Regions from separate parts of the Homo sapiens genome. Here all the other regions are linked to region 3. The links are contacts of gene promoters, found by promoter capture Hi-C in blood cells and fetal thymus (Javierre and others, 2016). All regions are on one chromosome and are shown on one strand. The core of a region is centred on a gene start or on the middle of the fragment in contact, and the rest is flanking DNA. Distances in the headings are between cores, read along the strand shown.

Evidence for each region. Contacts are between HindIII fragments. The CHiCAGO score rates a contact against its expected background, and 5 or more counts as called.
Region 1: a contact is called between a fragment that was not itself captured here and the fragment with the promoter of RAB29 in region 3, in 3 of 17 cell types (endothelial precursors, erythroblasts and M0 macrophages). The highest score is 7.6, in endothelial precursors.
Region 2: a fragment that was not itself captured here is called in contact with the fragment with the promoter of RAB29 in region 3 in 1 of 17 cell types (M1 macrophages); the score reaches 5.0 in M1 macrophages.
Region 4: a fragment that was not itself captured here is called in contact with the fragment with the promoter of RAB29 in region 3 in 2 of 17 cell types (erythroblasts and naive B cells); the score reaches 5.9 in erythroblasts.

The regions. Positions count from the first base shown.
Region 1 is chr1:206,104,212-206,109,767 of GRCh38, reverse strand. It overlaps AVPR1B (arginine vasopressin receptor 1B), which reads left to right. Exons shown (of 2, transcript NM_000707.5): 2 at 1-2,832. Among named protein-coding and RNA genes, the nearest start is that of AVPR1B, 10 kb to the left of the region's middle. The HindIII fragment of the contact is 4,766 bases long and covers 1,280-5,556 here.
Region 2 is chr1:206,142,294-206,147,454 of GRCh38, reverse strand. It overlaps LOC105372873 (a long non-coding RNA gene), which reads right to left and starts at 291. Exons shown (of 2, transcript XR_922477.2): 1 at 179-291. The HindIII fragment of the contact is 6,217 bases long and covers 1-5,161 here.
Region 3 is chr1:205,772,450-205,778,130 of GRCh38, reverse strand. It overlaps RAB29 (RAB29, member RAS oncogene family), which reads left to right and starts at 2,649. Exons shown (of 6, transcript NM_003929.3): 1 at 2,649-2,858; 2 at 3,045-3,298; 3 at 5,564-5,635. The coding sequence starts at 3,175. RefSeq lists an enhancer at 3,735-3,784. The HindIII fragment of the contact is 8,570 bases long and covers 1-5,681 here.
Region 4 is chr1:206,043,554-206,048,889 of GRCh38, reverse strand. No RefSeq gene overlaps it. Among named protein-coding and RNA genes, the nearest start is that of RHEX, 7.0 kb to the left of the region's middle. RefSeq lists an enhancer at 1,138-1,307. The HindIII fragment of the contact is 4,180 bases long and covers 328-4,507 here.

The DNA.
Region 1 (5,556 bases), core at 2,413-4,912, 330 kb before region 3:
GGAGAAGTGAAAAACCGTGAGGAGGACTCTATTTGGATCCTGGATTTGTTGTTGTTGTTGTTGTTGTTAGAGAGAAAATTGCTTCATGAAGAAAAGTGAATGGATATGTAGGGATTACCCTGCTGTGCCCAGCTGTCTGTTGAAGGGAGATGGTCTCATGGAGATGCAGGATTCAGTATAGTACCTGGTACCTAGCAGGAACTCTGCAAATGCCAGTCCCTCTTCTCCTCGTGCCACCCCCCATGACAGCGTGGATGACGGGAAAGTGTTGTATATTCTCTGTGGTCTGGTCCACTGTCAGTGTGGGTGGGAAGAAAGAGGGAGGGAAGGAGAAGATGAAAATGGTCATCATAAAATTAACAGCAAGAATAAGCCTCAAGGGCAGCAGGGACTTGTGGCCCTCCCTCCTTTCCCCAACCCACCCCCCAGGGAATCCAGCCTGCTCTTTCCCCGGGGGCTACACAGAGGAGACCTCCTTTGAGAAAAGGTGACATCATCATGGCTCTGGACACCCTCCAGGCTCTTCAGAGCTTCCACCATGAACCATATGGATGCTGTGATCCAGTTAGGAGCCCGGGTTTGAATCTCAGCTCTGCCTTCAGTATCTGTGTGACCTTGGGTGAGTCACTCTCCCTTTCCAGGACCCAGTCTCCTCACCTGTGTAATAGGTGAGATGATCTCTAAACTCCAACCTTCCATGACTCTGCAATACTGGAAATGGTGTTACAGAGAAACACAAAGGATATTATAACCAACAGGGTCTAGAAGAGTTGTTGCATTTTTATGACAATGGCATTGATATACTCTTTGACTCAATTCTGGTGACGGTGGGTCCCACCATGGCCATACTGTCCACTTTTGTCCTCATCTGGGATGCTGAATCCTCCTCCAAGGCTGGGAGAGGCTGCAGGCCAAGGTAGACCGAGGTAGAGGAAGAGCATGGCACATGCTCATTATCTCCAGGGGACTTTTATCATGGCATAGCTTCCCCAACCCAATTCTGATTCCAATTGAAGAGAGAGCCTTGCTGGTGGAAAAGACATCAGCTGAAACATCAGCAAAGCTGCATCCTGGTTCTGCCACCACCAATGACACACATCAATAAAATGCTGGCCAGTCCTTGCTAGCTTGGTTCTGAGAATCAAATAGGACTGTGGATATAAAAGTCATTTGTAAAGTCATGAGCTCTATACTAACGTAAGGAATTACTAATCTAATTAAGAGCTCCTGAGGGAAGCTCTAGGGAACACTTTCAGTCTCTACCCCTGACTCCCAGGGAAGCTTTGAGGAATGACTGTGGCTTTGCGGATATACTTCTTTAAGAGGCCACTCAGCTCTAAGAAGCCTCCTGAGGCTTTCTAAAAAGAAAAGAGCCTTGCTGAATGTTGTGAGTGAGCAAAGCGTCCCAGTCCTTCAGTGCTAGAGAACTGGAGAGTGAGACCCTAATGGGACCAAGGCTCAGGCAGATGGGAGGACCCACAGTCTCCCTCTCACTGAGTTCTGTTGCCCATGTCAGCCCCTGACATCTAATACTTCTTCCCTGTCTATCTGCCCTGGTGAAGTGGGCTTAGAAGCCTCCCATGCCAGCCAGAGCTGTTGAATCTGCTCCTTCCCCTGCTTACAAAAGCGGCCTCCCCACCCCCTTGCCCCATCTTTAGACCACAGTTTCTGACCCTAATGCCTAGAGTTGGTAAATCTTTGTTCTTCATGATGACTGGGAGGTAGAAGGAACACCAGCTGTGTGCCCCAAAGACCTGGGTTTGCATCTTGATCTCACCCCTTTTCTACCTGTATCAACTTAAGCAAGTTATCCAATCTCCCCCAGCAATGCTTTCTTCATTTATTAAATAGAAATAGCAATGCCCACTTTGTTGGGAGGGATTTGTAAGATTGTAGACTAGAGATAGAGCACTCAACAGATGTTAGAGAGGGGAACAATGGCCTGGCTCCAGATTGCATCTGGTAGATGACCTCCAGGGTCCTGACCCAAAAGAGTCTACAGTTCAGAGAGGAAAAGAGGAGACAGACCTGGGATCAAGGCTGACTAAAGCACTTTCTTGTCTACCCTTTGCCTTCTATAGATCCCCTCTTACTACTATGATATTTTCTGTTTTGCATTGCACAAGAATAATTTACTTGGGGTGGTGGCTTTGGAGCCCTCATTGTTCCTCCCATGGAAAGGCTACACTTGATCTTTTCCAGAAAGCTGGTTCTGTCCTGTGATATGGACAGTGGGGAGCGACTGCACACTGGCTGAGGGCCTCGGGAACCCATTCCAGGAAGCTCCTGAAGGAAATGGTGGATCTCATCGGATCTATGAGTGAAAGTTCTGCAGGACCTGTAGGAGGCTCGCCTGGACAGTCTGGGCCAGTGGAAGGGCCTTGGATAGGGTTCAAGGAGGAGGGGCCCTGTGGAAGCAAGAAGGAGGCTCTGTGCTCTCTGGGGTGAATCCCATTTCTGACGGCTAACCCCAGGAGAAACTGAACAATGCCGTCTCTGGCTGGGCACTTGTGTAAATTGTTTATGCCATCCTGTGACTGTGAATGACAGTACTTTAGTCCCTTAAAACCTATGTACAAGCAGGACATGAGGGGCAGACGGGACAGAGAGGAGGACAGGAGGGGTTCATCGGTTGACTACGGGGATTTCTCAGAATCGTTATGTTGTTTGGCACAGGCCAGTACTTTCCCAGATAATGTGTCTGTGTTTTGTATGTAAATAGATCACTTATCTACTACAGGGCTATAGATTCAGCCCAGGCTGTAGCAGTTCATTCCTGGGTCAGAAACCCAGGTTGAAATTCACCAATAAAAAGATTTAATATCCAGGAAATTCCTGCGCATCTTTAGTTTTCTAGGGACAATGATAATTGGATGTGCAAGATAAAATTAAAGTGTGTTTGTCTTGAGTGAAGGGGTGAGGTTGCTGGGGAAAGGGGCCACCCTGCATCCAGTTTAAGTGGGAAAAGCAGTGTCTTCGAGTTTGCCATAGGACCACAAGGTGGCAGTGTGGAGCCAAAAGTGGGCCTGGCCTCCGCTGGGCTTGACTTGGCAGCTCCTGCCTAAGAATCAGGGTAAGGCCCTTTCTCTAGCCAAATATTGCTGAGATCCAGTGCACATTCTTTAACTCTCCTGGAGGATATGAAGCAGTAATGACTAACAGGGAAGGCTAGGAAAGTCACCCAGCCTCTTAGCTTGTGAGTCCTCAAGTTCCAAAGAGTCTTGGTCCCTCACTTGACCCGGTTCTCCTGAGATACATGGACACACACTGGGTTCTCTCTAAACCCACGGAGATTTGGCAAGGCAAAGAACAAGAGGTTTCTACTGCAAGGTGAGGAAATGAGTATAGGAATTCCTGCCCAAAAGGCAGCAAGACACATGAGTCAGTGTTTGAGGGCCCTAGTAGGACCTCAAAAAGCCACATGAGCTATAGTTACTTTACGGGTTCTGGTTTAGAATCTGGGGGCATGGGTTAGGAGGCTTCTCTGAGAGTGCCTCGGAGCCCAGCAATCTGTCCCAATTCCAGAAGCAAAGAAACCCACTGATGTTGAGCGTAAAATACCTCCTCACCCTAGCACGTCTTGGTGGCTAATAGGATGCTCGTGGAATTTTGCTGCAGTTCCCATGGTGAGCATTTGGATGCTTGCTCCTTTAGAATAAGAATTCATTGAAAACAGGTCACATTTATTATGGTCTACTGTGGTCTATATTCCTAGGTCATTGTTGGCATGTAATCCACCATCTACTGGTTGCCAATAGCAAATCAGTTTTTCTGTGTCTTATTATCAGATAATTTTGGAAAAATCTTTGTCCAGTCCATGTCCATGGAGAAACCCAGTGTGAAACAGTATGATTGTTTCTGGGAGGTACCAATGACATATAACGTGGGAGAATGTGACTTCACTGAACTGGAAGCTATGCTCCTCAAAGGGTGGTTACTCATACAGGTGACTATTTGTACCGATTTAGACAGCTCACCCTTGAAGCTCATGGAAATATGACAAACAAAAGGCCATTTTGTTTCTACGTGGCTTGCAATGACTTTGAGGATTAGTTCAATTTGTTAGCTGGCCCCAATTATTAGCTTATTGGCTCAAACTCCTCAGGAGGTGACATCAGCCTTCCTCTGTACTTATGAGGGCATCTGAGCAGTCATGTGCACTATTGAAGTTCTAACCTCTGTAAGTCACTTGGTAGGGTCACACGTTTAAATCTACTGTTAAATCTAACTGTTAAATCTAACAGCACTCTCCAAGAATGCCTTCACTTAATAAGCAATCAGGGTGGGTTCTAATGTTAACCTCCATGATATATTCACTACTGAATGTCATATTTCTGAAGCAGAGTTTATTACAGAGCTTAATCAGATGGTCTACAATCATTCTAGCCTCTGGTCTCTGGTCTCCCTGACGTCAACTCCCTGCGCCAGAGTATCACAGCAGCCTCTGAGCCCAGACACAGACAGTTCTCCAGACAGTGCCACTCTGGGCCGCCCCTCAGGCATTTATTGAGAGCCTGCAGCAGGTCAGGTCTGTTCCTTTTCCTCCTGCCTTTTCTCCCATCAGTTGATTTTCCACCCTTTTTTTCTTTTTTGGCGGGGGGGACGGAGTCTCGCTCTGTCCCCAGGCTGGAGTGCAGCGGCACGATCTCGGCTCATTACGAGCTCCGCCTCCCGGGTCCACACCATTCTCCTGCCTCAGCCTCCCGAGTAGCTGGGACTACAGGCGCCGGGCACCACGCCCGGCTAATTTTTTGTATTTTTAGTAGAGACGGGGTTTCACCATGTTAGCCTGGATGGTCTTGATCTCCTGACCTTGTGATCCGCCCACCTTGGCCTCCCAAAGTGCTGGGATTACAGGCGTGAGCCACCGCGCCCGGCCTCCGCCCTTTTTTTCTAAACTGAGGTCAGAAATCACCTCTTTCTGGGATGTTTTTTCTGATTAAGGCTGGCTGATTCTAACATCCTATTCCCCGGATCTGTGTAAATACTGATAGGCTCTGGTTTCATTGCTCTGTGTTCATTGTTTTTTACATGTTGTTTTGTACATGCTCTCTGGCTCTTTCCTGTCCCCACAATTAGGTCATAGATGCCTTGACCCCACCCAATCTTCTTTTTGTTGATCTCTCCTCTCAACACCCAAGGCCTGTCCCAGAATTCTGCGGAAAGCAGGCAGTCTGTTTACTCTCATCCCCTCTCCTGGTGGGAGCTGTCTCAGCATTGTCCCTGCGGTGTCTCTTGGGTGCAATGTAACTTGTCTGAATCTCTTCAGTACACTCTTGAATTTTTTTTTCTTTTCTTTTTTTTTGAGACGGAGTCTTGCTCTGTCACCTAGGCTGGAGTGCAATGGCACGTCTTGGCTCACTGCAACCTCTGCCTCCCGGTTTAAGCCATTCTCCTGCCTCAGTCTCCTGAGTAGCTGGGATTACAGGCGTGCACCACCACAACAGGCTAATTTTTATATTTTTAGTAGAGGCGGGGTTTCACCATGTTGACCAGGCTGGTCTCGAACTCCCGACCTGAAATGATCCAACCGCCTTGGCCTCCCAAAGTACTGGA
Region 2 (5,161 bases), core at 1,422-3,921, 370 kb before region 3:
TGGCAATGCATGAATGAACTCTCAGTCTCTGAGTGTGAAACTTGAACTACTAATGCTGAAATTGGTACTTACTGTATAAGAACCTCAATACTCAACCACGGGACCTGGCCCTAAAAGCAAGTAACTTAGCATTATATGTATGGAATCTCAAAACTCCATCCATGAAAACTGGCCTTACCGTCATGGAATCTTGCACTCCATGTATGAAACCTAGACTTGCAGGCATTTCATTAATTGGGACGTCCATATAAGCCCCACCCCTACAAACACGGAAACTGGTACTGTGTATATGAATTCTCAATCTCCAAATATGGAACATACCCTTACAAGTGTGGAATCTGTCACTCTAGCTAAAACTCCGGGCATGGAAACTGGCATTTGAGTCACAGAAGCCAACTCTACATGCATGGAACCTGGTCTCCCAGATACGGAATCTGGCACTCTGTGTATGGAATATCAATCCCCAGCCATTGAACCTGACCATATAAACATGGAACCTGTACTCCATTTATGAAACATGGACTTTCAGAGATATATTTAGCTCTCCTAGGTGTAAATCCTGCCTTTTTATGCATATATATTCTGCTCTTCCGCATAAAACCTGGCTCTATAAACATGGAAATTGGGTTTCCAATTATGAAACCTGACTTTCCAGGGTTGGAAAGTAGCTCCTGATGTGAATCCTGCCTCTCTAGGTATAAAACCTGATTCTTTAGTTGTGGAATCTGGGCTTCTATATGTACGCCTTGGTGATCTAGGTATTGAATTAGACCTTTTGAGCATAACATGAGTATGAAATCTCTCTCTCCAAACTTGGAACCTGCCTTGTGAGGGTGGAACCGGAACCTCCTGAAATGCCATCTAGCCCACAAGTAAAAAAATTCAGGGTAGTGTTAAGTGACTTTTCCAAGGTTAAACAATTGATTTTCTATGGAGCTGGGGCTGGAATCCAGGTCTCCTGATTCTCAGCCAGTGCTCACTATAGAGATGGTTGTTCTGCTTATCTTTCTTGTTAATGGTGTAGCCAGGGAAAAGAGAACTAGACAGGTGGACAGGAGTCAGAACATGCAAAGTCTGTTGACAGCATTGCCCTGACTGTCCTGTCTGCCTCTATTGCCCTTAGACAGATGGCCCAATCCCACTGAACTTTACCACCCCCTTTTTCATGCAAAGGGGGAGTCAGACAAGATGGTTGCTGAGACCAGTTCCAGCCCTGGCATTCTGTTCTCTACCTCTATGTTATGCTTCTCTTTATTAAGAGCCTCTTCTTGTCTTTGAGCAGCGTGAGACTGAATTGGTCTGGGGCATACCGAGCCATCTAAGCAAGGAGCAACCAGGAGATTAGCTTTGATCCTGCCCTGACCCCCTCCTCCCTCCTGTGGTTTCCTTCATTATTTCAGCTGTTGCCCAAGGAAGAGATTTTTATATTTGGTTGAAGTGTCCCATTCAACCCAGAAAATCAAATACCATTTTAAAAGATCCTGACTTTGGAAGTTAGCCTCACAGCTGCCTGGGGTGCCTCACGATCCCTCTCTATTCAAAAGCCTGTTCTTGTTTTCCATTTTACAGCTCATGTCCTGGTCTCTTCTTTCTGCTTGGGTGGGGTTGGCTGCCTAAGGGACTCAGGTCCTATTGCCACTTGGATCTAAGCAGGGGAGGCTGTTAGGGCCAGGGGAGGGAATCAGACTAACCAAAGAGTCGGGGGAGTTTTTAGGGCATCTCCTGTCCTTTTGCCTGAGGGTAACCACTCCCCCCTCCGCCCCGCTCCCTGCACCCTGCCCCCAGATGGAGTCTCTCTGTCTCCCAGGCTAGAGTGCGGTGGCACGATCTTGGCTAACTGCAAGCTCTGCCTCCCGGGTTCATGCCATTCTCCTGCCTCAGCCTCCCGAGTAGCGAGACTACAGGCGCCCGCCACCACACCCAGCTAATTTTTTGTGTTTTTAGTAGTGACGGGGTTTCACCGTGTTAGCCAGGATGCTCTCGATCTCCTGACCTCGTGATCTGTCCGCCTCGGCCTCCCAAACTGCTGGGTTTACAGGCAAGAGCCACCGCGTTTTAACTCTTTGTCCTTCATATGCCCGAAACATAAACTTCTAGTGCTTTTTCTTCACTTACCAATTTTGGACATTATCTATTTATTTTCCGCAATGGTAGGTAACTCTTTCACACACTGACGCTTCTCAGCTCTTCTCTTCCATCTTCCTAATATAATGTCTAGGCTTTTATGACCCTGAACTACTGTTGACCCCAGAATAAGTATGCACTATGCCATGATTACATTTCTTTTCCTCTCTAGCTTTTCTCTGCCCCTAGTTTCAACATTTCTTTCTTTTTCCTCATACTATTTGCCTTGATCCTTGCCACATTCTTTTCTTTCCAAACCTCCATCATCTCGCCTATGTTATCTGCCACCTTTCTTCCCAGAGATCTTGTACACAGAGTCCTTTGTAGAAGCAACACATTCATTTGTTTAGAAATAGACATGGAGTGCCCACTGATAGCCAGACCTGCTTCAGTTAATTTATTAAGTCATTAAGTCATTGCTTTCAATAACCATATGCTGAGTGCCAGGCATGAATAATACAGAGATAAATAAAATATAACCTTTGTGCCCAAGTAGCTACCCTGTCTCTTTCCCTCACCTAGGTCAGGATCTCTCTTGTTCCTGGCATCTAGCCCAGTACTTAGCACATGGGTTGCCCTTAGTAAATATTTATTGTTGAGAACATTATTGGACTCATTTTTCAGGCCCATCTTCACTCATCTCCCCTGAATGTTGCTTAAATAGGGACGATCCTGGTGTCATCCCTATTTAAACCCAGTGCACAGCGATTTCATCTCAGAGGTGCTCAGTGCAGGCTTCAGGTTCTCTTCTGCCTTAGCCCTGTTATTGCATGGGATGCAATCCTGCCCCACTTCCACCCCGAGATAAGGTTTCTTGAGCTGCATCCTCTGGCACAAAATCCTTCCTATCCCCAAGGGAGGCAATGTATGGGTCCTAGGATAGCATTGAGAACAGGGGCCTAGGCATCTGCTCTGATGTCCTCATCCTCTAAGCCTAAGGCAGTACTAGCCCTCCTCCAAGTCTCCGTTTCCCTGGCAGCCCTGCACTTCCTCCCCATTTCTGTTTCCCTGGCTGTAAAACTCTGAAGCAAGGCCTGCCCTTCTTTCCTTCCCCTGCATGCAGTTTAGGACCAGGTGGAGGTTCTTAGCTGTGAAAGGCCTCATGAGGACTATTAATGTACTCTTTAGGAGGATTTTGTTTCAGCTCAAATGCATTCTGCAAGGATTTCACAGTGACAAAGAGTTCGTGTATGTGTTGCAAGACAGCTCCCTTCTCTTGTCCTGAGGGAGTTTGCACCTGCTTACTCAGGACAGGCTTTTCCACAGACCGTCCTCCATGCTGTCCTCCCACCTCAGGTGTCTGGTTACTGCCAGAACCATTTATTCCGACCCTCCATCTGGCCAACAGATTAAAAATCCCCCACAATGCAAAGGGCGACTGCAGATGGCCGTGCACCTGGGAGTCCCGAATCCCTGGGCTGCAGGACCTGGAGTTGGACTTCCCTGCTTGGCTGACAGCCTTGGAACCTCCAGTTCATCTAACAGGGAACTGTAAAGCCAGCCCCTCATTAGAACAGCCTGCAGCCCAAGTCCACACTGAAAAGAGGTGGAGGTGCTAAACTGATGCCTGTAACTTAATATCTGGTGAGTTCGCCCACGCAGTGCACAAGAGACGTGCACTCAGCCACCGTATGTGACTGGCACTCACAGTTCTTCTCCCGAAAGCTACAGCCGCACACGGTGTACCCCATGCAGCCCTTCTCAGCAACCCTTGGGAGACATTCTCATGACTCGTCACCATCTGAATCCCTCGCTCTCATCTGTCTTTGGTGAAGAACCTGGGTTCAGAGGCTTCCAATCTCTTTTCCACATGGCAGCCTTAAAAATGTATATACTTTCAAATATAAAATGAAAACAGAAATGTTCTCCCTCAGTGCTTGCCAGTGCACTTAGAATATGACTTCAGCTGGTTCCCATGGTCTAGGAGGGATGTGGCCCTGTCCACCCCACCCATGACCTTGTCTCAGGTCGCCCTGCCCAGCTCTCTGCCTCCAGGAGCACTCCCCTCCCGACCGACAGTTCTGAGAACTTTTTCTCTTCCTTGGAGTGCTTTTCTCTCCATACGCAGGATGGCTGGCCTTCATTTTTCTGGTTTTGGCTTAAATGTCATCTTGGAGACATCCTCAATGACATCTCTGTCCAGAATAGTTCTCCCCATACCCTTATTCCCCTAGATCCCTAGGTCCCTGCTCTTTTTTTTTCCAGGGCTCTTATCTCAATTTTTAATTGTATATTATTTTTCGTTGACTTGTTTTTCTTGTGTTTTCCCTGAAACAGTAAGCTCCTTGAGGAAGGGATCATATATAGTCTAACCAGACAGCCTCTGTCATAGTGCATGGCACATAGTAGTTGCTCAACAAGTACATGTTGAATGTCAAATGAACAAATGTCAGGAAACAAATGTCAATCGAGTCATTTCCTGAATTCAGTGCCTTTTAGGGCAGTGGTCTCAGACTTTGTTGCACATTAGAATTACCTGGAAAGGTTGAAAAATACCTCCATAGCTATTAAATCAAAACCTCTAAGGGGTGAGATCAAAGCACCCATTTTTTAAAAAGTCTTCAGGTGATTCCAATGTGCAGCTAAGAACCCAGTGTTTAGAGCAGTGGTTCTTACATGTAGTCCTGGACGAGCAGTATCAGCCTCATGTGGGGACTCATTAGAAATGCACATTCTTTGGTCCTACCCAGATCTACTGAGTCAGAAATTCTAGTCAAGCCACTTTCCTGCGCCCTCCAAGGGATTCTGAGGCAGGCTAAAGTTCGATAATCACTGCTTTAAAGAAGGGGTCGTGCTGTCTCTACTCTTCGCCTTGTCATTTTTTGTTGGCATCAGCAATAGGAAAATGGGACACTCTTTAGCAGGATGACCACTGTCCCAGTTTGTGGGGGACTGTCCCTGTTTTACTGAAAGTTTCACATCCCAGGAAATCCCTCATTCCCCAGCAACCAAGACAGTTGGTCCCCCTACTATTTAGAACTCTTTTGATCGAAATACCAGATCCACCGGACAAGTTGAGTAAGTGTGATAAGTGCAT
Region 3 (5,681 bases), core at 1,400-3,899:
GGGCAGCTGAATATCACTGATCAGAGATAAAGAACAAATAAAGTGTTAATGGTAGCTATGATAGCGGTTATCACCAGTGCCGTGAGTATTCCTTCATTAAGGGCTGACACAGAGAACAATTATACTTATTGGGTATATTTATCAATCTTGGCTGGCAATAATGCCTGGATGCAATCACTTTATGACGCAGTTACACATGCTTTCTGATCTCAGTATTTACCATAATAAATCTGCTCCTATAATTGAGGCATACCGCCCTCAAAAACTTATTTGTAAACAGGATTGGACCCAGTTAGAAAAAATGAACGTACTTGTTTAGGAAGATTGCATTGCAGAACAGGCAGAGATGCTGCACAATGATTCCTATGGAATCATTATTAATTGGTCCCCTAAGGGGATGTTTAGCTTGAATTGCACCTCTCAGTCTGCGTGCCACGGCCACACTATGTTCAGCTGGTCTGAACAAAATGGTCAGATGGTAGATATAATAAGAAGTACAGCAAGAGTTCCTATTATCTGGAACCATGGCAGTATAGTGACACCTCAACCTCAAATGATATGGCCCGCTCTAGGAGCTTAACATAAGGATTTAAAATTAAAAGAAGAAATATTTAAAGCATCCGAGGCACACTTGACCTTAATGCCAGGAACTGGAGTGCTTAAAGGAGCCGAAAATGGATAAAAACACTTGGAAGCTCTGTGATTTCAATGATGATTGTGCTTTTAATCTGTGTTGTTTGTCTTTGTATAGTCTGCAGATGTGTATCCTGACTCCTGCGAGAAGTAGCTCACCGTGACAAAGCTGCCTTTGCATTTATCAATTTGCAAATCAGAGAAGAGGGACATGTTGAGAGCAGGCCCCCCAAAATCTGGCCATAAACTGGCCCCAAAACTGGCCATAAACAAAATCTCTGCAGCACTGTAACATGTTCATAATGGCCCTAACGTCCACGCTGGAAGGTTGTAAGTTTACAGGAACGAGGGCAAGGAACACCTGGCCCGCCCAGGGTGGAAAACCGCTTAAAGGCATTCTTAAGCCACAAACAATAGCATGAGTGATCTGTGCCTTAAGGACATGCTCCTGCTGCAGTTAACTAGCCCAACCTATTCCTTTAATTCGGCCCATCCCTTCGTTTCCCATAAGGGATACTTTTAGTTAATTTAATATCTATAGAAACAATGCTAATGACTGGTTTGCTGTTAATAAATACGTGGGTAAATCTCTGTTCGGGGCTCTCAGCTCTAAAAGCTCTAAAGGAAATCAGACCCCTGATTTCCCACTTCACACCTCTATATTTCTGTGTGTGTGTCTTTAATTCCTCTAGCGCCACTGGGTTAGGGTCTCCCCAACAGAGCTGGTCTTGACAGAATATCACTGATCAGAGATAAAGAACAAATAAAGTGAAGATAGATCTTTGACACCAAGGACAATTCACTAAAGAGTTTATCGAATGATTGACTCAGAGACCAAGAATCAGGCCTTAGGAAATACTTAGCGGGAAATGGGATGGAGAGAAACCTGAAAGAAAAAGATAATCATCAGAGAAGTACGGGGATGACAAAGAAAGAACAGCGTCATAGAAGGCATAAGGGAAACAAATGTCAAGGAGTGGTCAACTATGTCAAAACGAATAAGAACAGAGAAAACTGGATCCTTAAAGATGAGTAGCTTGAACTAACCTCCTGTACCTGGGTAACGAACATTCTGGGCAAAATATATTGTGAACCATGCTGATGTTCTTTCGCCACAAAACATAAGTGATAGCCTCTCTATCAAGAGACCTAGATTTCCTAGTGTCTGGTCCTGGGCTGTTTTCCCATGGCCCCGCTGGTTCTCTTCCTCTATTCCTAGAAAAGTATAGAAAATGGAGCTCTCTTTGCTTGCCATTGAGCTCATGTCCTGCCAACTTCTACCCAAGTGACAGGTAGGTCAGTAAAGTTACAGGCTGAGAAATTAAAATTATTTGCCAAACACTAGTTTTATGATTATCTATTAACAACAGCCACAACAAATCAAGAAGGAGTCCCAGTGTATTTCAATTAGCTTCTAGCTCAAGTGATACATGAGTAGTATGGCTAGAATAGGCATTGTAGAAGTATGAATGGAGAACTGTCTCTTGTTTTCTGTCCATCTTTATTGTTATTGCTGGATATTAAATGCTGTAATTTTTGGCATAGGTTTTTTTCCAAAGACTGGTCTCTTGGGTCAAGTTTTCCTGAACTTGCCTGGTATTGGGCAAGTTCACACAGAAAATATGAGTCATTTCACAAAGTCCTGGGCTTGTCTATCTACTTGAAGGAATAGGAAATGGACTTCACTTGGAGCATGATGGATGAGGCTTGGGCTTTTACTAATGAAATAAGTTTCAATCTTAACTCAGTTAAACCTTTAAAGACAGGAGAAAACTATCTGGGGATGGATTCAGGCCAGTGAGATCACGTTGCACAAATCTCCCCTTAAGGGATCTTTACTGACCTAGAATTGTTTCAAAATAAGATTCCAAACTGTCGAGGGAGTTTGAAGCCTTGAAACTTGGTGTAGGTTTGCTTAAAACAAAATAACGAATATACTACATTTCCCAGGAGGCTTCGCGGTGAGCCTCCGCACTCGGCTGGTTCTCTTTACCGCGAGGAAAGCTGGGAAATGTAGTGCCACAGGCAACCCTGCACGTGACGCTTGCGGAGGAAGGGGAGAGAGAGGCGCGCGGGAGGGCGTCTAGGGAATCGAGGTGCCGGCTGCTCCTTCCTCACAATTTGGTTTGTGCTGCAAGGGGAGGGTCCCCATCATCTGGCCCCAGTGGTGTAAGGAGCTGACTGGGATTCAGTCACTGACTTGGAGCCGCTCGGGGGAAGTCCCGGTGGGTGAGGTTCCGCGGCGCCTGGTCCAGTTTCTCGGCAGTCAGGCCAGGAGGGGGTGGGGAAGGTGCGAACAGCCGGGGGCTCGGAGCTCGCGCCCTGCGCCCCACCCAGGTTGCGGCCGCCCGGGGAGGAAGCGCGTATAGGTTGAGTGCAAAGTTTCCTTTTTTGCTTTCTCGTCAGAGCAGCCCAGACAGGCGGTGGGTGGGAATGCCTCACTTCAGTTTGAAGAGGGTCCGGATCCAAAGGGGTTAAAACGAGCGACCCCCGATCCCCGACCACACTTCCCGCCTCCCTAAAACGCACACCCCGCTAGCCATGGGCAGCCGCGACCACCTGTTCAAAGTGCTGGTGGTGGGGGACGCCGCAGTGGGCAAGACGTCGCTGGTGCAGCGATATTCCCAGGACAGCTTCAGCAAACACTACAAGTCCACGGTGGGAGGTGAGACGTCTCGGGGGTGGGGAGGGGGAGGGGGAGGAGGAGGCCCCGACCGCGGACTCGAGCTGGGGACCCAAGTGGGGTGGGGATTTGCTGTCGGTTGTTGGGTCCTTCTTCGGGTCAGGAAGTACTGTCTGGGAACCTAGATGGTGTAATTGCCGGGTGTTTGGTTTACACGCCTCTCTTGAGTTTCCCGTTAGATTTTCCCAAACTGAGCCCACTGCCAGGAGAAAGGTAAGAGCAAAGGCGTGAAGATGAGAAATAGGGAAGGGAGGATGAGGATGAGCAATTGCTGTTTATTGCAGGCGTACTGTGAACTTAAGTCTCCAGCCTTTCAGCTGTCCGGCAAATCTCTCCAATCAGCAGAAGCAGCTGAGATCCTCTGTGGGGCCTCCTGGTTAGGTGCCGGCTGGGGCTGTAGTCCTGCCCCTCTGTTGAGGGAGGAACCGCAAGGTGTTTAACCTGGCTTCAGTGGGAGAACGCAGGAAGCGGAACTGGTCTGAAGGACTGTAGCTTTGTTGTGGGGCTGTGGGTGGGATGGAAGACACAAAATCCCCGAACGAGCCCCTTGGCTACGCAGTCAGATGCCCATGAGGGCTGATGAGCTGTGTTTTTGTCCGTTGATTGCTTAAATAAAGGTAACCAAGGAATTCTTCCAAGAATGTGAAATATACCACTTCTCTGACCTATCTTCCCACCACTTTTTTCCTCAAACTGGAGAAGGTAGGGAGGAAGGGGACACCGAGTTCATTCATTTCTTTCCCGGGTGTGGCCTTTGGACTCAACTATTTTTTCAGAGGCAGAAATGCCTTATTGTTAATTAGAAGGTATTTAGCTAGGAAGAGCTGGTGATGGGGGAGAGTAACTTAAAATTTTATTTCTCTCTGTTAAAAGAACTTGTTTCAAGGGGGGAAAACTCGTACCAATGGAAAAATTGAAAATGTGTGCTCCTGTTCATATGGAAGTTTAAAAAGAAATTAACAAACATTTACATTGCAATTAAAACATTCTCCTTAAGAACCCCCAGTAGGGCCCAGTACCGTGGTTCATACTTGCAATCCCAGCACTTTAGGAGGCTGAGGCGGGAGGATTGCTTGAGCCCAGGAGTTCGAGACCAGCCATGGGAAACATGGCAAGACCCCCACCTCTACAAAAATTAAAGAAGAAAGTAGCCGTGGTCCCAGCTACTCGGGAAACTGAGACGAGAGGATTGCTTGAACTGGGGAGGTCGAGGCTTCAGTGAGCCCCGTTCGCACCACTCACTGCACTGTAGCCTGGGCAACAGAGTGAGACCCTGTCTCAAAAACAAAGGAACAAAAAATTTAAGTCTGGCAAAATTAAAGGTTCAAAGTTTCAGACACTCTATCCTGACCGCTCTGCCCTCCCACTCCTAAATAATATAAGGGTCCCTATTTCACGGATTTGGGTTAAAAGTGGCCTGCTATTAATAGTTAATTTTTAACAATTGCTGTAGTTTTCCTTTAGCAAAGAATATAATTGGCTAATTTTTTTTTCAGTGTTTAGTCTAAATTTCCCTTAGCTTTGATTCCTGTCACAGATGTGAAAGATAATATTTCCAAACCTCAGAAATTACTCTGTTTCTCTCCTTAGCCAAAAGGCTTTCCCCATGGAATACTTACTCAGCCTTAAGGAGTCTCAGCACCTGCAGACTTGGTGGTAGATTCCAGCAGGACTCTTCAGCAACATCCACACAGTGTCTTCTTCTTGGGACTCCTCTGGGACCTTTTCCATTTATTCCATTCTTGCCCAAGATAATACCTGCAACCTTATGGTGGATGTAGAGTTCCCCAGGGTGTGTTCTTTTCATAATACAATTTGATTAGAAACCAACAGTGAAATTGAATGTGGAAGATACGAAAGCAACCACACTTGTCTCATTTCCCCCTTCTCCCCCATCACCCCTTCCCTGAGAAAACCCCCTAAATCTCCCAGAAACTATTTAACCTGAGAATGAGAATTGTTTTCATAGTTACTCCCACCCCCAGTCTTGGAGACAAACAGTAGCAAATAAATGAGCTTGACAGTAGAGTAAAAGCTGGAAACCCCTTTGGAGAGTGAGTATGAATCATCCATCTCACACTAAATACACGCATGTGGACTCATCTCAGTGAATTGAGGGCTTAAAGTTAAACATATGGGATTGGAGTTGTGTGTCCATAGGGTTTCACTGCCTATTTGATTTGAGTTTATCCCTATTAATTTTTTACAGTGAAATTTTATTAAAGTATAATGTACATATATTTTCAGTGGATTTTGCTCTGAAGGTTCTCCAGTGGTCTGACTACGAGATAGTGCGGCTTCAGCTGTGGGATATTGCAGGTAAAGTGGGAGGGCTAGATAGGAACAAGGGAAGAAATTTTGATTT
Region 4 (5,336 bases), core at 1,168-3,667, 270 kb before region 3:
GCAATTGCTTGGACACAAGAATTCCCCCCGGAGCCTGCTGGCTGGCAGTGCAGCGGCTGTGTAGAAAGGCTCTACCAGAGGGGCAAAGTCCAGGCATGAGGCAACAAGGAGGCTCTGAGGTTGGGGGAGCCTGCAGAAGAAGCGGAAGAGGAAGCTGGATAAGTCCGCCGCCCCTGGACTAAGCTGCTGACTACCTCCTGCTGTGATTCCAAGAGCCACTGCCTCAAAAAACTTCCTTGCAGGTGCTGGTGCCTGAAATTCCAGTGGAGGTGTTTCATTCCCTCAGCCAAAGGCAAATTCAATCCCAACAATCTCAAGTATCACTCAAGCTTACACAAGTGTGCAAATAACATTATGGAAGATAGATTCGAAGGTCACACTTTAATAAAACAAGAGAGTGTGTCTATAACAGGAGTGGGGTGGGATGGGTGGAGCGGACGGGAAATGGAGAACAAAGACTCAAAAATATGAAATAAATAGAACATAAGAGCAGTTCGTGGACCCATGATGTAAGAATGCCACTAGGGGGATTGATCAATCTGATTCTGGGTAGCTAAAATCAAAGAAAAAAAAATCCAATCCAGTCAAACTTCTCTGTAGCATATGGTATGTCCTTAGCAGCGTGAGACAGCTTACAAGGATAGAGAAGAATGAGACACGGGCCCTGGGTTCAGAGAGTGCTACCCCACGCTCACCCCCCACCCCAATTTAGCGAGGAAAATATCCGCGGCAACCATAGCAGCTGTAACAAAAGGTAGGTGTATAATCAAAGCTAAAAAGATGTACAAAGAAAGGGCTATTGGATCAGAAAGGAGGAGCAGGTTGTTTCTAACTTTAGTGACGAGGGAAGACTACATGGAGGAGGTGGCATTTGTTGTGGTCACGGATGTGTAGGAAGGATTCCTATGGCAGTGCTGAGGCTGTGGATATACCAGATGGGAGGGTGCTTGTAGTGAAGGCATGGCAGTTGGAATATCCAGCCATTTTTCCTTCGATGAACATCTGAAATCACTGCTAAGAGAGGGAGCATTGTACACCTGAGGGTGAAAGGAAGGCTGTCACCTAGGATGCAGAAGGAGGGAGGAACAGAACCTGGGAAGACAGAGGGCACGAAAGACAGTTCATGAACTTCAAGAGCCCAGTGGACTGAGATCATGTCTGATTTCACTTATCTCCCCGGCTTCTAGGCCAGTGCCTGGAACACAGCAGCCCTCAATAAATGCTCATTGAATGAATGAGAAGTTGGACACACTCCCTTTGCTCTTTTTCAGGCTGGCCACAGATGTGCTGCCGTAACCGAGTGGAGCCATATACTCTCACCATTTCTAGGACTTTAAATGTTTTTCTGGTTGCTTTTGCAGAATTTCATTTCTCCAAATAGAAACCCTGCGTCCTCTTGAGGTTTATTACAGAGGTATTTATTGGTTGGGGTTGCTTTAAAGATCACCATCAGGTTTTCATTTTGCACAGCAGCTTATTTGCAAACGTCAAACAGGTGTCTTAACATTTGGCATCCTAAGAAAATTAAACTGTCAGCCTCTTGGGCTCCTACAAAAGAGCACCAGTGAACATGTGAAGCCAGAACTGTCCACAGGTGACTTAACAGGAACTGATCCCATATTACCATCCTTTACTGGCTCTGCACATATCCTTCATTCAATTTAAAAACATAATAAAAATTTTTTTTAAGCAAGCACATTTTACTTACTTATTTGTTTATTTAGACAAGAGTCTCACTCTGTCGCCCAGGCTGGAGTGCAGTGGCGTGATCTCGGCTCACTGCAACTTCTGCCTCTCGGGTTCAAGTGATTCTCCTGCCTCAGCCTCTCGAGTAGCTGGGATTACAGGCACCCACCACAATGTCCAGCTAATTTTTGTATTTTTAGTAGAGACGGGGTTTTACCATGTTGGCCAGGCTGGTCTCAAATTCCTGACCTCAAGTGATCCACCGGCCTCGGCCTCTCAAAGTGCTGGGATTACAAGCATGAGCCACCGCACCTGGCCGCAAGCACATTTTTAACAAGTGCAAAATGGAAACCTTATGCACATCTTACGATTTCGTTGACGACTCAGAACTGGGGATATCTCGTGTGACCTCCGGTCAGCAGTTTAAAGGATGAGGCATACTTATCCCCATTTGTAGCTGAGGTAACTGAGTGATAAGTGAATTGCTCCAGGTCACAGTTAGCAAACAACAAAACCAGCATCCAAACAGAGGTCTCAAAATCCCTTAAACTACCTTTCATTTACTACACAGATTGTTTCTATATCATCTTTATTAGCTGTAATAACCACATAAATTTTGGAGTAGCTAAGGACAGTTGTTCAGGTTGTTTATTGCTCAAGGGCATGACATCTAAAGAAACTATCCAACCTGTAATCCCAGCACTTTGGGAGGCCAAGGTGGGCAGATAATCTGAGGTTGGGAATTCAAGACTAGCCTGACCAACATGGAGAAACCCTGTCTCTACTAAAAATATAAAAAATTAGCCAGGCGTGGTGGGGCATGCCTGTAATCCCAGCTACTCAGGAGGCTGAGGCAGGAGAATCGCTTGAACCCGGGAGGTGAAGGTTGCAGCGAGCCAAGATCGCACCATTGGACCCCAGCCTGGGCAACAAGAGTGAAACTCCGTCTCAAAAAAAAAAAAAAAGAAAGACAGAAACTATGCACATCACAGACATCATTATGTTGAATTTTTTTCACTTTTTTATTTAACTGCTAACTCTAAAGGTAGATGACATATTCTTATTAAAATAGTTTTCTGACAAATAACAATAAAATGTCTTCTCTAACAAAGATCCTTTTTTATGACAATTTTCTTTCAGATGGAAATAGATTTTCTAACAGGGTTGACATTTACTTCATAAGCTGAAGCAGAGAGTGTTTGACAAAGACCTTATTGGTTTAAGTAACGAGTGCCACAATAACTAGTGCTTCCAAACAAGGAGTTGTTTTCCAACTCTTGTTTTGATTTTTATCTAATTTTTTTTTAAATCCTGTATTAGTATTTGTGTATTGGCTAAATTTGAAGTTTTGCATTACAGTTCATATTGTCTGCCTGAATGGTAGCTCTGAATTCCTAATTTAGATCTACGGATTTTTATTATTACATAACTCACTTTTGTGGTAATTAATGATCATAGGCAATTATATATTCATAAAATAATTATTTTATATTCATAAATTAGAGACTATTATATCATGAATTGTGAATTGTATCATAGCTATTGTTTATGGGTTGTTAAAGAAAATTTCTTCAGGAGAAAAGCTAACTGCTGGTAAAGTTTCATGGCTTATTATATATATTTTTTAAAGTTTTAAGTTCTAGGATAAACTACTATTATGTTTTAATTATGTATATAGATATATACACATATATATATATATATATTTTTTTTTGAGACAGAGTGTCGCTCTGATGCCCAGGCTGGAGTACAGTGGCATGGTCTCAGCTCACTGCAGCCTCCGCCTCCCGGGTTCCAGCTATTCTCCTGCCTCAGCCTCCTGAGTAGCTGGGATTACAAGCATGTGCCACCACGCCTGGCTAATTTTTGTATTTTTAGTAGAGATGGGGTTTCACCATGTTGGTCAGGCTGGTCTTGAACTCCTGGCCTCGTGATCCACCCGCCTCAGCCTCCCAAAGTGCTGGGATTACAGGCATGAGTCATCATGCCCGGCCTTAATAATATTTCTTTAACATTTAATAAGCTAATATAATATTATTTCTCCCAGGATACTGATAAGAAAAAAAAATCAAACTAAAACTAGAAGATGAAAAGCTGTCTAGATAGAAAGTAAAGTAAAACTATTTGGATTATTGAATAAATTTAGGGAGAAATAGAGAGTTTAGGGCTGTTTGTTTCAGTGAATGTGTCACAGAAATGTGAGATGTGAATTTACCTTTTAGTTCCATTGTCAGAAATAATCGATGAATCTAAAAAAAAGTAGCTTTAAAAATGCAAAGAATTCAAACACATGGCCAAGTAGTTTGAATAGGAAACAAAGATGTACTCTTGCTGAAAATTATTCACCTCAAGTAAAAAATTTTTTATCTTTACAAAAGATAATACAGGTTGGAAGTTTTTGGAAATATAATGGACACAAATTTTTTCCAAATGGTGAGGAGAAATAATAATGACTAGATTCTGATTATTTTATTATACTTCCAAGGACTCTGTATTTTGCCAGCTCTTTGAGAACAAAAAATCAGCTGGAAAATGGGAAAGAATGCAAAGATTGTACAGCACTTGGCACATTTTTTTGTAAACATGAAGAATCTGAAATAAACATCAATAGGAATGCTAAGTATTCAAATTTCAAATCTGATTAGAAATATATAATTATTAATGCTGCAAAACAGATTCTATATGATGAGGAAAATATTACATTGAACAAAAAAACTCAATTCTGTTTTGGCAAGACAATATCTAGCATTCAGAGGATCATCTACAAAAATGTATAAGCAGTATAATAACAGGAATTTTCTTCATTTACGAAAAGCATAGAAGCTTAATAGAATTTACAGCAGTATACAAATATATATTGTATGTTTCAAATATGCAATAATTTGTATATATACAATATATATTTGTTTATATAAACATATACTTGTATATTATTGTACAAATATTATATACTATATATAAACACCAAATATATACCAAATATTATATACTATATATAAATATTATATACTATATATAAACACCAAATAGCATTTACACATTATGTAGCAGATGAAAAGCAAAACCAAATGATTAAAATATAGCAGATTTGTTGACTGAAGTTATTTTGAATCTTGTAAGAAGTGCTAAATATCACACAGTTAAATAACTTGAGGTACATTTCCTGATGTAAGCCACGTGGAACAGTTGACAATTATTTTTAGATTTGTACATTTTCAAAATGCAAATATATCTATATGTAAACATTAATTTTTTTCCCTACAGTAAATGATACAGCTGGAGAAGGATTATTTAGGTTTTTGGTTGACCACAACCATCACCAACAGAAGCACTGAATATAGGCTATAATGATTTGAGGGAGCAGATACAACAAAGATGAAAAAAATTTATGACAAACTTAATGGATTTCAGCATAGGTCCCCAAAAGATTCTAAGGCTGCCTTGCTCTGTCGCCCAGGCTGGAGTGCAGTGGCCTGATCTCGGCTCACCGCAATCTCCGCCTCCCAGGTTCAAGTGATTCTCTTGCCTCAGCCTCCCAAGTAGCTGGGATTACAGGCACACGCCACTGCACCTGGCTAATCTTCTGTATTTTTAGTAGAGAATGGCGGTTCACCATGTTGGGCAGGCTGGTCTCGAACCCCTGACCTCAG